Regions from separate parts of the Homo sapiens genome. Here all the other regions are linked to region 1. The links are contacts of gene promoters, found by promoter capture Hi-C in blood cells and fetal thymus (Javierre and others, 2016). All regions are on one chromosome and are shown on one strand. Each heading gives the region's core, a stretch centred on a gene start or on the middle of the fragment in contact. The rest is flanking DNA. Distances are from core to core; before and after follow the strand shown.

Region 1 (3,275 bases), core at 263-2,762:
AAAAGAGCAAGCATAGACATTCCATTGTGACTGAGAAGCTCCTGCAAGTACCAAGAAGAGTATAACCTAGATGTTCTAGTAGAATAAATTATAGTTATGTCAAAATTCAGAAGTGGTCACTGCAGCTTGGTTGTGACAATCGGGAATCTGGAATCTGGGAACTTGACCCTCTTTACAGCAGGCAGGAAGAATACAGGGAGGTGTGAGTGTGTGTGAGTGTGTCTCTTCCCTGCCTCAGCCACAGGCCGCAGGAGCTGACAAGGCCAAGTCCCCGCCCCCCTCAGCTGTCACCCTGTCAAAACAAAGCCGCTGCTGACAGCGCAGGGCCAGCCTGCCCCGCGGCCTCGGGCAATCCTCCCACCTCGGGAACACAGCCTCCACATCTGGATCTGCAGCTGGAGGTGACAGGGTGCCTAAACTGGCATGGAGAGTGGGTAGCAAGAAATGGGTGTCCTCAAACTGAGCAGTAGCGCCCGCCGCGCTGGGCTGTCACTTTGCCAAATCCTGTTTACACCTCGAGCAGCTGGGACAGCGTTTTAACTAAACAAGTAATAATACAATAATGACAGGGCTGTCACCGCGCGCGGCAGTGCCTCCGCCCCCAGCCGAGGGCGCCAGGCACCACAAGACCCTCGCCTCGGACTCTGCCCACCTTCCCACCCCGCGCTTTCCTCCCCTTCGCTTTCCCAAAGCGCCAGGAGTCCGGGAGTCTTCTCCACCCCCACTCCTTGCACCCAGTTCCTCCCAGTGGGACACAGGAAGGGATCGATTGCAGAAGGGACCACTCAGTCCCCCAAAAGATTTTTCCTTGCCCCTGGGTCACCCGCCACATGGAGAGCACCGCTCCACTCCCGGGAAAGTGACTCCAGCGAGCTCCTACAGAGCAACAAAACCCCAAGGTAGCCCGGGAGCTCGGATGCCGAAGCTACTCCTTTCAAGCGGAAGGAATGAAGGGCTCTCCGTCTTAGTGATCCCCCTTCTTCAAACCCAGCAGGACTCTTATCCAAGAAGAAGCTAATTGGGCGCGGGCGACAAGAGCACTTCCGCGGTGCAGCGGCCCCAGGCGGGAGGCGAGAGGCAGGAGGCGGGAGGCGGAGGTGGAAGCGGGAGGGGGAGGGGGGTCCCGCGGGCTGGGCCCCTAGCACCCATCCGCGGTCCGAGAGCGGCGAGCGCGTACCTTGCAGGCGGAGTACACTCCGAGTTTCTCCAGTTTCTTGGCCCGCGGAGCGGAGCGTAGTTGCGCTTTCTTCACGGCGATTCGGGCCGAGCCACCGCCTCCCGGTCCTTCGGCCGTGCCCGCTGCAGCCACTGCCGTCGCCGGACCGCAGGCGCCCGAGCCCCCGGCGGCAGCGGCGCAGGGGGAGCCCTGCGGGGGCGCGGGCGGAAGCGCCGCAGGCTGCGGGGGCAGCGCCCCGGGCCCGGCCCCTGCCCCGGCTCCTGCCCCGCAGCCGCCCGGCCCGGCCCCGCCAGCCTCGGACATGCCGCCCCGGAGCACGGCAGGAGGCGCCGAGTGTCAGGCGCCGCCGCCGCCGCCAGGGTCTCCCTCTCGGGCTCTGGTAGTCGGGAGAGCGAGACCCTCCCCCCACGCCCTCCCGCCCCCTTCGCCCACCCCCCTCCCCGCCCCCGCCCTCCCCCTAGCGCGCCGCTCGCCCGGCTCGCTCTGGCCGGGCCCCGCGCGCTGATGGTGGTGGCGGCGGCGGCAGCGGCGGCAGCTGCTCCCCCAGGAGGGAGGGGACTAGCGGCTCCGCTGCCGCTGCCGCCGCCGCCACAGCACACGCCCTCCCTTGGTTCTCCTGCCCGGGACTCTGCTCCGCGCCCTGGCTGCGGACATGTTCCTCGGGACTGCGGACTAGGTGTGCGTGCCGGCGGCTGCCAGCCTCACGGTGTCTGCCAGCGCTGGGAGGCCCCCCACGGCCTCTTTTCCGCTGCCCGCGGGGTTTGCACCCCCCACCCCAGTGCTTCGACACCTACCGCTCGCCCGCCAGGGGGCGAGGCCAATCCCTGGGTGTGGGTGAGGGTGGGGACGAGGGTGGGGGTAGGGGCCTGGAGCCCAGGCACCTGCTGGCCACCTCCCCCCTCCGCGGCCCCCCATCCGACCCCCGCACGCCTGCACCAGTGGGAGGGGGCAGCCTCTCAATCATTTGTCCTTTCACTCTCTTCCACCCTGTCTCTGACAGAGAGACAACTTCCTCCACCCTAGCGGGAGCCAGAGGAAAAAAAATATATTTTTGAAAAGTACCCGTCCATGCTAATCTTTTTCTTTGTTGCTAATTCACCAAAATAAAGACGTGATGTTCTCCCTTTCTCTTTTTAAATACTTTCTGTCAAACTATTTTTTAATATAATTAACACTTTCTTCCCATAGCAATTTCTGGGTCAAATCTGCCGGAGGAGGGGAAAAAAACTTACTATTCTCTGTAATTTTTGTTTGAAAGTGCTGGTTGCTAAAAGAAAGATTGTCTAAAAAGCATTGTCAAAAACTATGCAGTGGAAAAAGTTTGAATACAAAAAGTTTGTTAACAGGATTCGTTTCTGGGTGGTGGTTCTATAACGTTACGTAGTTTTCAAAATTGTGCCACCGCGTGCGTATTAACCAGGAAAAAGATATAAGCATAATTCAAAAGAATAAATATCGATTTTGGCCTCAAACTTTAAAAAGAAAAAAAAAACCCTCAACTCAGTGTTTCCAACTCTTGTTGAAAACTGTTGTTTTCACTGTTGATGACTGTGGAGCATACAAGTCAGTGCTGCGTTTGAAAGTGGTGTACCGTTGATCGCCTTCTTAAGCAGGTTTTAAAAGCCCAGGGCTTTTTCTCAGGACCCTTCAGAAGTGCCCTACTTTTTGTTATATGCAATGTGGGTCATAATGTGCTTATTATCAGATTTTATGCATGCTGTATAGCTCTCAGGCCAGACGCTTTAAGGGGTGTGCTTTTCGTGGGAAACATTCCCCTTCTTCTTTTTCCAGATTCTCTGTGTTATTTTGACTTGTAATGCAGGTTAATATATAAACATTGGGAGGTGGGGGAGTTTGTAGATCTAAACAGTGATATTAGCTTAGACAGGGCAAAAGGCAATATTCTCTCCCAACTTGAGTCCAGTCTTGAGGGGATGAAATGGCAGATTCTTATCAGGTTCCATTCAGGACAATTAATTTCAGTGCTTCCTTTCTTAGCTTGACGTGCTTCACGTTACCAGTGTTACTCTCTCCTGGCTCTGCTGAGATGTTTCGCAGATTTTTGCCATTCTCCGCAAAGCAGGGTGAGAGTCTTAAA
Region 2 (3,275 bases), core at 542-3,041, 2.3 Mb after region 1:
TACTCTGCACTTTTATTTCCTTAGAACTTGAAGATTTTTTCTGTGTGGTTTAGCGTAAATTAAAAGAGAAAACTGACAGACTACAGAGCTCAGACTGTGCAAAATCACATTTCATGATTTTCTTCCGGTAAGATCCTTATGGTGAGTTTACTCATCAAGCTATGTTCCTGCCATGGACTACTTAAAGTTCCCCAAGCCACATTTTGTAATTGTCAGAACTGAGGTTAATAGAAGTCATTGGGAAGTGATAAATAGACCTGGATGCAGTGAAGATAGGACAGAACGGGAGAGGTAGGAATGGGGAAGCACCTAGTATGAACTCTTCTTTCTCTGGCCCCCTTTCTGCTTCATGATTCTCTCTCTGGACTCCATTGATTCTGCCCTCTTACTGATTTTCTGGCTTCCTGTTTATTTTCTAGATATACCTTGTCTCCTTTCTTTCAGAAAATTGCTCCTTACCTCCTTTCTACTTTGATCAGGAGTACTATATGCTTTCTACCAGTATGGGAAGTGGTCCTGATCAGTTTCCCTAATGTCCCCATCTTGTCACAAAACTACTACAAAATTTCATGATCAGTGGCAATCATGTATTCCACTTTGCAAAGGGTGTGGCAAAGTATTGATTAAAGTTGAGTGTCCTTATAACATGAAACTACTGATATGGAAGAATTAATGAAAGGAGAGACAGATACTTCATAAAGACAAACGGTCAGAGAATTATAGATATATATTTAAATTTTATTTATTTATTTATTTATTTATTTTTTTGAGACGGAGCCTCGCTCTGTCACCCAGGCTGGAGTGCAGTGGTGTAATCTTACTGCAACCTCCCATTCTTCTGTCTCAGCCTCCTGGGTAGCTGGGATTACAGGCGAATGCTACCAGGCCTGGCAAATTTTTGTATTTTTAGTAGAGTTGGGGTTTTGCCATCTCTTCTGGTGGCCATCTCTATTGGTCAGGCTGTTCTTGAACTCCCGACCTCAGGTGATCCATCCGCCTTGGCCTCCCAAAGTGCTGAGATTACAGGCGTGAGCCACCGTGCCCAGCCAGAAAATTATAGAATAGTAACTGAGTGGTTGAATGTTACAAAGTAGATAGTGTGGGAGTAGTGTCACCAAGATGGAAAAAGCTTCTGAAGAGTCTTTTTTTGTTTGTTTTTTGTTTTTTGAGATGGAGTCTCGCTCTGTTGCCCAGGCTGGAGTGCAGTGGTGTGACCTTAACTCACTGCAATCTCTGCCTCATAGGTTCAGGGGCTTCTCCTGCCTCAGCCTCCTGGGTAGCTGGGATTACAGGCGCCCACCACCATGCCCAGCTAATTTTTGTATTTTTAGTAGAGATGGGGTTTCACCACATTGGCCAGGCTGGTTTCTAACTCCTGACCTCAAGTGATCTGCCTGCCTCGGCCTCCCAAAGTGCTGGGATTACAGGTGTGAACCACTAGGCCTGGCCCGAAGAGTCTGTTATCTTAGACCTCCAACCTGATTTCCTCCCTGAACTTTCAGATCTGTGTATCTGATTGCCTACTGGATAACTCCACTTCTTAATGGCTCACAGGAAACTCAGTTTAGTAAGTCTGCAACAGAATTTACCTTCTTCTCTTACAAAAAATCTTTACAAGTGTGTGTTTTTTAATTAAATTAATTTTTTTTTTAATCTCAGCACTACCATCTCCCTAGTTATTCAAGCCAGAAACGTGGCAGACACATTTTACTCCATTCTCTACATCCTCATGTACAGGCATCAAACTCAACCCTGTGGATTTGAACCCATTGTGTCTTCATCCCTACTATGTCTTCTCTAGTTCAGGTCCCCATCATCTCTTGCCTTTGTTTCTGTAAGGTCTTCTGACTGGTGTCCCCGCAGCCAGGTAGGTAATCTTTTTAAGCTCTCACGATTCTCTTATTCTGTGGCTTAAAACCTGATATTCTCCATTGCCTATTTCCAGTCTCATGACACCCTCTTTTTTTTTTTTTTTTTTTTGAGACAGAGTCTTGCTTTGTCGCCGGGCTGGAGTGCAGTGGCACGATCTCAGCTCACTGCAACCTCCGCCTCCCGGGTTCAAGCAATTCTCCTGCCTCAGCCTCCTGAGTAGAGTAGCTGGGACTATAGGCGTGTGCCACCATGCCCAGCAAATTTTTGTATTTTTATTAGAGATGGGGTTTCACCATGTTGGCGAGGATGGTCTCAATCTCTTGACCTCGTGATCCGCCCGCCTCGGCCTCCCAAAGTGCTGGGATTACAGGCGTGAGTCACTGCACCCAGCCTCATGACCCCCTCTTCTGCCTCCCTTATATTATGTGATTTTGTAAAAAAGTAAAAAATACTGAAATTCTTTGATTTTGGAACTGTTCATGTTTTTGCTTGCCTTGGGCACAGAGTAGTTTTTCTGTCTCTTCATCTTACTCACTTTTGTAAGGTCTTAGCTTAAATGCCACTCTGTTCCAGGAAGCTTCTTTATACTACCAAGTCTGTGTTGTGCTCTTCCTGTTTGGCCAAATACTCTATACTATAATATTTATGTATTACTCATAATACATAAATATTATGAATTATGAATTATAATATTTATTGTGAATTATAATTACCTTTTTACTCATTAGTCTATGTCATGCTTTTGACTGCTCTGTGAGTGCCAGGGCCACGTATAACATCTTTACTTTAATACTTCTGGTGGCGTGCTTGTTAAAAATAGATGTCCAATACCAGGTACTGTTCTATGTGTTAAAAATACAGCAGTAAATAAGAGGCTGTTCTGGTTGTTAACTGCCGTGTGACAAATGGCTTCAAAACTTTGCAGCTTAAAACAACAGTAATATTTATTTACTCATGATTTTATGATTTTTGTAGGACTCATTGAGGGTAGTTTATCTTCGTTTCATCTGGTGTCAGCTCAGTGGGGGTTAGATTATCTACTTCCAAATGGCTCACTTACATAGCTGGCAGTTTATGCTGGCTGCTGTCCAGGAGCTCAGCTAGGGCTATTTACTAGAGGTACTAAATGAGGCCTTTTCCTGTGGCCTGGCCATGACTGGTAGTTTCTAAGAAGGAGTGCTCTAAGAACAAGCATTTCAAGAGGCAAAAAGTGGAAAAACCTAGTCCCCTTAAAGGCTAGGCTAGGAACTGATAGAGCATTACTTCTGCTGTATTTTGTTGGCTAAGAAGACAGAGTCAGCCCAGATTCAAGAGGAAGAGAATTAAACTCCATCTATTGGTGGAGAAAATGACAAAGAATTTGCAACTTTACTTAATTTGCTACACAAACTTAAAATACAAAA
Region 3 (3,275 bases), core at 415-2,914, 2.1 Mb before region 1:
TTCATGAATTGGAAAAATAATATTGTTAAAATGTTCATACTATTCAAAGCAATCCACAAGTTCAATGCAATCCTTGTCAGAATAGCATTGACAATCTTCACAAAGATAGAAAAAAAATCCTAAAAATTATATGGAACCATAAAAGTCCCAGGACAGCCAAAGTTATTCTTAGCAAAAAGAGCAAAACTGAAGGAATCACATACCTGACTTCAAGTTATGCTACAGAGCTATAGTAACCCAAACAGCATGCCACTGACTTAAAAACAGATGCATACACTAGTGAAAGAGAATAGAGAAACAAGAAATAAATTTATACACCTACAATGAAGTCATTTTTAACAAAGGTGCCAAGAACATACATTGGGAAAAGGATAGTCTCTTCAATAATGATGCTGGGTAAACTGAACATATGTATGCAAAAGAATGGGACTAGCTGCTATCTTTTTTCCCATACAGAATAAAATTAAAGTCGATTATAGGCTTAAATCTAAGATCTCAAACTATGAAACTGCTAAAATAAAACCTTGGGGAAACTTTCCAGGATGTTGGTCTGGGAAAATATTTCTTGAATAATACCCCACAAGCACAGGCAACCAAACCAAAATTGGACAAATGGGGTCACATCAAATTAAAAAGCTTCTATGCAGCCAAGGAAACAGTCAACAAAGTGAAGAAACAACGCACAGTATGGGAAACAATTATTTGCAAACTATCCATCTGACAAGAAACTAATAACCAGATATATAAGGAGCTCAAACAACTCTATAGGATAAAATATATTTATCCAATTAAAAGTGGACAGAAGATCTGAATAGACAATTCGCAAAAAAGACATACAAATAGCAAACAAATATATGAAAATATGATCAGCATCATTGATCAGAGAAATGCAAATCCAAACTACAGCGATATATTACCTCACCCTATTTAAAATGCTTTTATCCAAAAGATGAGCAATAATGAATTCTGGCGAGAATGTGGAGACAGGAATCCTCATACACTGTGGGAATATAAATTAGTACAGCCACTATGGAGAAAAGTATAGAGGTCCACAAAAAACTAAAAATAGAACTACTGTGTGATCCAGCAATACCACTGCTAAGTATGTATACCCTAAAAAGGAAATCAGTATATCAAAGAGATATCTGCACTCCCATGATTTTTGCAGCAGTATTTATAATAGCTATGAATTGGAATCAACCTAAGTGTCCATCAACAGATGAATGGATAATGAAAATGCGGTACTTATACACAATGAAGTACTATTCAGCCATTACAAAGAATGAGATCATGTCATTTGCAACAGCATGGATGAAGCTGAAGGACATAATAAATGAAATAATCCAGACACAGAAAAACATGACATATTCTCACTTGTGGGAGCTAAAAATTAATACAGTTGAACTCGGGGAGATAGAGAGTAGAATAACGGTTACCAGAAGCTGAGAATTGTAGGGGTGAGGGAGAATGGGAATGGTTAATGCACACAAAAATAGTTAGATAGAATGAATAAGACCTAGCAGTTGCTTGCACAACAGGATGAGTTCAGTCAGCAATATATATATATATATATATATATATAGAGAGAGAGAGAGAGAGAGAGAGAGAGAGAGAGAGAGAGATGGAGTCTAGCTCTAGTTTTTGTTTTGTTTTTGTTTGGTTTGGTTTGGTTTGGTTTTTCTGAGACAGAATTTTGCTCTTGTTGCCCAGGCTGGAGTGCAGTGGTGCAATCTCAGTTCCCTGCAACCTCCGCCTCTTGGGTTCAAGCAATTCTCCCTGCCTCGGCCTCCCGAGTAGCTGAGATTACAGGTGCCCACCACCACACCCAGCTAATTTTTGTACTTTTTAGTAGAGATGGGGTTTCACTATGTTGGCCAGGCTGGTCTTGAATGCCTGACCTCAGGTAATCCACCTACTTTGGCCTCCCATAGTGTTGGGATTAAAGGCGTCAGCCACCGCGCCCGGCCCAGTCAGCAATAATTTTTTGTTGTACATTTTATATACATTTTAGAATAGCTGAGGGAGTACAATTGGAAAGTTTGTAACAAAGAAATGATAAATGCTTGAGGTAATGCATACCCCATTTACCGTGGTGTGATTACACATTTTATGCTTGTATCAAAATATTTTATAAATATATACACTTACCTCATCAATATATACACCAAAATATCCCGTAAATATATACATCTACCATGTACCCATAAAGATTTTAAAAACTAATTATATAAATAAATATCTCAAATATAACTTGTGTAAAACTGTACTCTTGAACTTCTCACTTTAAGATCTACTCCTCCTACCTTCTTGGTAATTCAGTCTCCCCCGCTTCTCCCCTCCACTTTTTCTCTTTTCTCTTCTCTTCTCTTCCATCCTGTCTCATCCCATTGCATCTCATCTTATGCTATTCTAATCACTCCCAACAATCTATCAACTCATCATCCAGAGTGTTTCTATCAGAACAGATGTCAGATGCTATTCTTCTTTTGCTCAAAGGAAAGAATGTCATGGTTGTCCTCCATGACAACCCATTGCATTTGGAATAAAAGTAGTCTTTAAAGTTGCCTCCAAAGCCCTATATGATCTTATCTCCTAATACTTTTCTTAAATCATTTCTTGCTCCTTTTCCAGTCACTTATGGCGTTCACCCATACTGCTTTACTTCATCTTTTGCCAATGCAAAGGAAGCTTGATTTCTACATCAGGGCCTTTGCATTTGATGTTGCCTCTGTTTAAAGTATTTTCAGAAAACTGCATGCATGACTCATTTCTTCACCCCCTTTAGCATGTGACTCGAATGTCACCGTCTCAGTAGGCCTTTCTTGGTACTTTCCATATCCAAATTGTTACCTCCCCCATATATATACTCTCTGTTCTTCTTTCTTCCATAGAACTTATTATTCAAGAAACCCTATATGACACTTATTATCTTATTTTTTTCTCTTTCTGTTTTTGAAATTAAGCTCTACAAATGCAGAGAGCTTTGTCACTTTTCTTTATGGCTGTGTCATCAGCACCTAGAAAAGATTCTGACATATATTTAGTGCTCAATATTTTTAGTATGATTAGAGTCAATACATACATTTTTCATAGTAGACAATATTTCATTTGATATACTTACTATAATTTTATGTTTGAGAAAATACTATTATTGGGAAATGAGATCCACAACTAGTTACTTCTATAAAATCCAGAATCAATTACAGTGGAAAAAAAACAATTTTTTAGGGTAAAAATGGAAACCCTTTGATGACTTCAGCCGAATGCAGGTCCTG
Region 4 (3,275 bases), core at 244-2,743, 2.1 Mb before region 1:
TATAAACTACGTTCACTTCACAGATGAGAGAATTGGCCTTAGAGAGGTTAAGTAACTTTTCTAAGGCCCCTCTCTTAGTCAGTGGCAAAGTTTGAATTTGAACTGATTTATCCAGATGTAAAATCCTTAGTTCCACATGCATTGCACTCATTTGCCAGTCATTTCATGAAATGGCCAAGATTAATAATGTGTGCACTCATTCAAATCTTTTAATCCCTGTCATCAGGAAGCTATAGTTGCATTTCATACCCTTACTTCTTTCCTCTTAAGGAAGTTTTGTGTTTTGACAGATCATGCAAAAAAAAAACAAAAAAAACCTTTCATTATATGTATAGTTTCTGTGTTAATAAACACATCTTCCAAGAAAATCGAACACTCGACAGATGTTCTGACCAAAATTGTGGATTAAAATGAGTAAGAAGTTGCTACTGTAAATAAAGCAAAGTAAAACATTGTGTCCTCTATATATGTGTGTATGTATGCAGACATACAAATATTTCAGTTTATTCTGTGTCTTAGTTCACTTTATGCTGCTGTAACAGAATGCCTGACACTGTGTAATTTGTAAAGAATAGACATTTATTTCTCACAGTTCTGGAGGTTTGGGGGTGTAAGATCAATACACTGACATCTAGTAAGGGCGTTCTTTCTGCATCGTCACATGGTATAAGGCAGAAGGGCAGGAGATAGCCAAAAGCTGCTTGAAGCCTCTTTATTAGGGCCTTAATCACTTTCATGAGGGAGGAGTCCTCACGGCCTAATCACCTATTATGGGCACCCCATTATAATACCATCACATTGACAACACCTGAATTTTGAAGCAGACACATTCAAACCATGCCATTCCATATATAAATATAGACATAAACAAGCACTATTAATACCACACTACATATGGATGTAAAATTTACCTGTAGAGAAATATATACATACAGTTGACATCATACAGCGCATGCACAGAAAAAAGACTAGAAGGAAATATATCAACAATTGGCAAACAGCTTTTGATAGGATTATTTAATATTTTAATGCATATTTTTGTATATTTTCCTGCAGTAAGCATATATTGTTTCTATACTTTAAATAAAATTATGTAATTTGTAGTCACTAAAGAAGTCATCTCAGGTTAGGTTCCTACTTGCATATAAAGTCTTCAGTTATTACCCTATTTTATATCAGAAAATCTAGAGTTTTTTAAGATTAGTAGTTTTTAAAATATATTTCCATGTATAAACTTTGCTTTTTTCCCCATGTATCAATGATTTTACAGTCCTGACTCTCAGAAAAAAATCTAGAAAATTTAACATAATTTTCTGACAAGAGGAAAATAGCCTTTTAAAAACTAATATTCCAGGCTTGGTGCGGTGGCTCGTGCCTGTAATCCCAGCACTTTGGGAGGCCAAGGCAGGCAAATCACCTGAGGTCGGGAGTTCGAGACCAGCCTGAACAACATGGAGAAACCCTGTCTCTATTAAGAATAAAAAATTAGCTAGGTGTGGTGGCACATGCCTGTAATCCCAGCTACTCCGGGGCTGAGGCAGGAGAATCGCTTGAATCCAAGAGGTGGAGGTTGTGGTGAACCAAGATCACTCCATTGCACTCCAGCCTGGGCAACAAGAGCAAAACTCTGTCTAAAAAAAAAAAAAAAACTCTCATTCCAAAGTTTTTGCATAAATAGATAAGTTGGCTAAATCAGTTATGCCTGCCAGGAGCTCATGTCAGAGAGATGTTTCAGAGAGAGCAGCAACTAACCATAACTAGCAAGAGTAGAGGAAGAGTTAGGTGACCACTCTTATGAAGAATGAGTGCCCAAATCACAAGTTAAGGGATCGTGGTGGTTGATAGTCTAACCTATGCTGATACTGATCCAAGATTGTCAGGCTTCTCCGCATTAGGTAGAAGATCAAGTTACAGATCCAGTTGCGTCACATGAGGCAATTTGTAGGGATTCTGGAAGACAGGTTCAACTCCAAGGGTTACAACCAACAAGTAGTAGGTAAGAGGTCAGGCCTTCAGCCAACTGGCCTCAGGTTGACGGCTTGGCTTTCTGGAGCTGGTATTAAACCAAGGGGGCAGGGACTGGTGAGAGAGAGACTCAAGCTGACTAATAAGGGCATCAAATCAGATGCCCAGGAGCTAAAGTCATATCTGGAAAGAAGACAGCAAACCTTTTCCAGTAACTCACTGAAATTTAAGGAAAAAGGTCCTAAAAGGCTGCCCAGTCAGGTACTCTGTATTGTATGAGACAGAGATTGGAAAATGTAAGATTTTTTTGTCCTTTCAGCTGGACCTAGGAGAACAGTGACCAAAGGGCAGATGGTATCTCAGTTTCATCATCTTTCAAATGTAAGCAGTAATTGTCCTTACTTCATCCAAGTGTTGTGTAGAATAGATACTATGTGTTAAGGGCATAGGTTTGTTACTGGGAAAAACCTGATTATGTCGATGACCAGTTTCCTTACAACCTAATATTTATGGCAGTGATTTTCAACTCAGGTAGCAAGTGAGAACATCCCATGGAGATTTTTGGAGCCACAAATACCTGGGCTCTGCTTTAGTCCTATCAAATCAGAATTTCTCTTGCTGAAGTCAGAGTTTCAGAGTCCTAGGGGTGATTTATCCTATCAATAATGACTAAGCATATGCTAGGGATACTACTGTATTTACTAAAACTTATTTATGATTAAAGTAATATGAAAGTTATTTATGATTACTCAAAATACAATAGTAACAGATGTGTACTATTAAATTAGATAAATTCACAGATTTAAAAATAACTACTATATTAATTGGTGATTAATTTTATATGTCAAAATGCCTAGGTCCCAGGATGCCCAGCCAGTTAAACATTATTTTGTCTGTGAGAGTGTTTCTCAAAAACAGCACCTTTGGAATTGGACTGAGTAAAGCAGATGGCCCTCCCCAATGTTGGTAGGCATCACCCAATCATTGAGGACCTTAATAGAACAAAAAGGTGGAGGAAGGTTGAATTGATTCTCTGCCTTACTGGTTGGGCCAGGACATCTGTCATCTCTTGCCCTTGGTGGTCCTGGTTCTCAGTCCCTCAGACCTGAACTGTGATCTACACCATCAGCTCTCTGGCTTTCAGGTCTTCAAACTACACCACCTGCTTTCCTGGGTCTCCAGCTTGCAGACAGCAGACTGTGGGACTTCTCAGCCTCCGTAATTGTGTGAGCCAATATTTTATATTAAGTCTCTCTTTCTCTCTCTGTATATAAGTATGTATGTATATGTACATGTATATATGTATTTAT

Evidence for each region. The method cuts DNA at HindIII sites, captures the fragments that hold promoters and counts their contacts. A CHiCAGO score of 5 or more calls a contact.
Region 2: a contact is called between a fragment that was not itself captured here and the fragment with the promoter of KAT2B in region 1, in 1 of 17 cell types (non-activated CD4 T cells). The highest score is 5.2, in non-activated CD4 T cells.
Region 3: a contact is called between a fragment that was not itself captured here and the fragment with the promoter of KAT2B in region 1, in 2 of 17 cell types (M1 macrophages and M0 macrophages). The highest score is 5.7, in M1 macrophages.
Region 4: a fragment that was not itself captured here is called in contact with the fragment with the promoter of KAT2B in region 1 in 1 of 17 cell types (M2 macrophages); the score reaches 5.3 in M2 macrophages.

What each region holds. Positions count from the first base shown.
Region 1 is chr3:20,038,683-20,041,957 of GRCh38, reverse strand. KAT2B (lysine acetyltransferase 2B) reads right to left here and starts at 1,512. Exons shown (of 18, transcript NM_003884.5): 1 at 1,178-1,512. The coding sequence starts at 1,480. RefSeq lists enhancers at 11-200, 917-1,887 and silencers at 1,051-1,110, 1,311-1,440, 1,611-2,250. The HindIII fragment of the contact is 5,734 bases long and covers 1-3,275 here.
Region 2 is chr3:17,730,210-17,733,484 of GRCh38, reverse strand. All of the region lies in intron 1 of TBC1D5 (TBC1 domain family member 5), which reads left to right. Among named protein-coding and RNA genes, the nearest start is that of TBC1D5, 11 kb to the left of the region's middle. The HindIII fragment of the contact is 1,320 bases long and covers 1,132-2,451 here.
Region 3 is chr3:22,122,270-22,125,544 of GRCh38, reverse strand. It overlaps a transcript of ZNF385D not described here. Among named protein-coding and RNA genes, the nearest start is that of ZNF385D-AS2, 170 kb to the right of the region's middle. The HindIII fragment of the contact is 2,052 bases long and covers 639-2,690 here.
Region 4 is chr3:22,105,401-22,108,675 of GRCh38, reverse strand. It overlaps a transcript of ZNF385D not described here. Among named protein-coding and RNA genes, the nearest start is that of ZNF385D-AS2, 150 kb to the right of the region's middle. The HindIII fragment of the contact is 4,489 bases long and covers 1-3,275 here.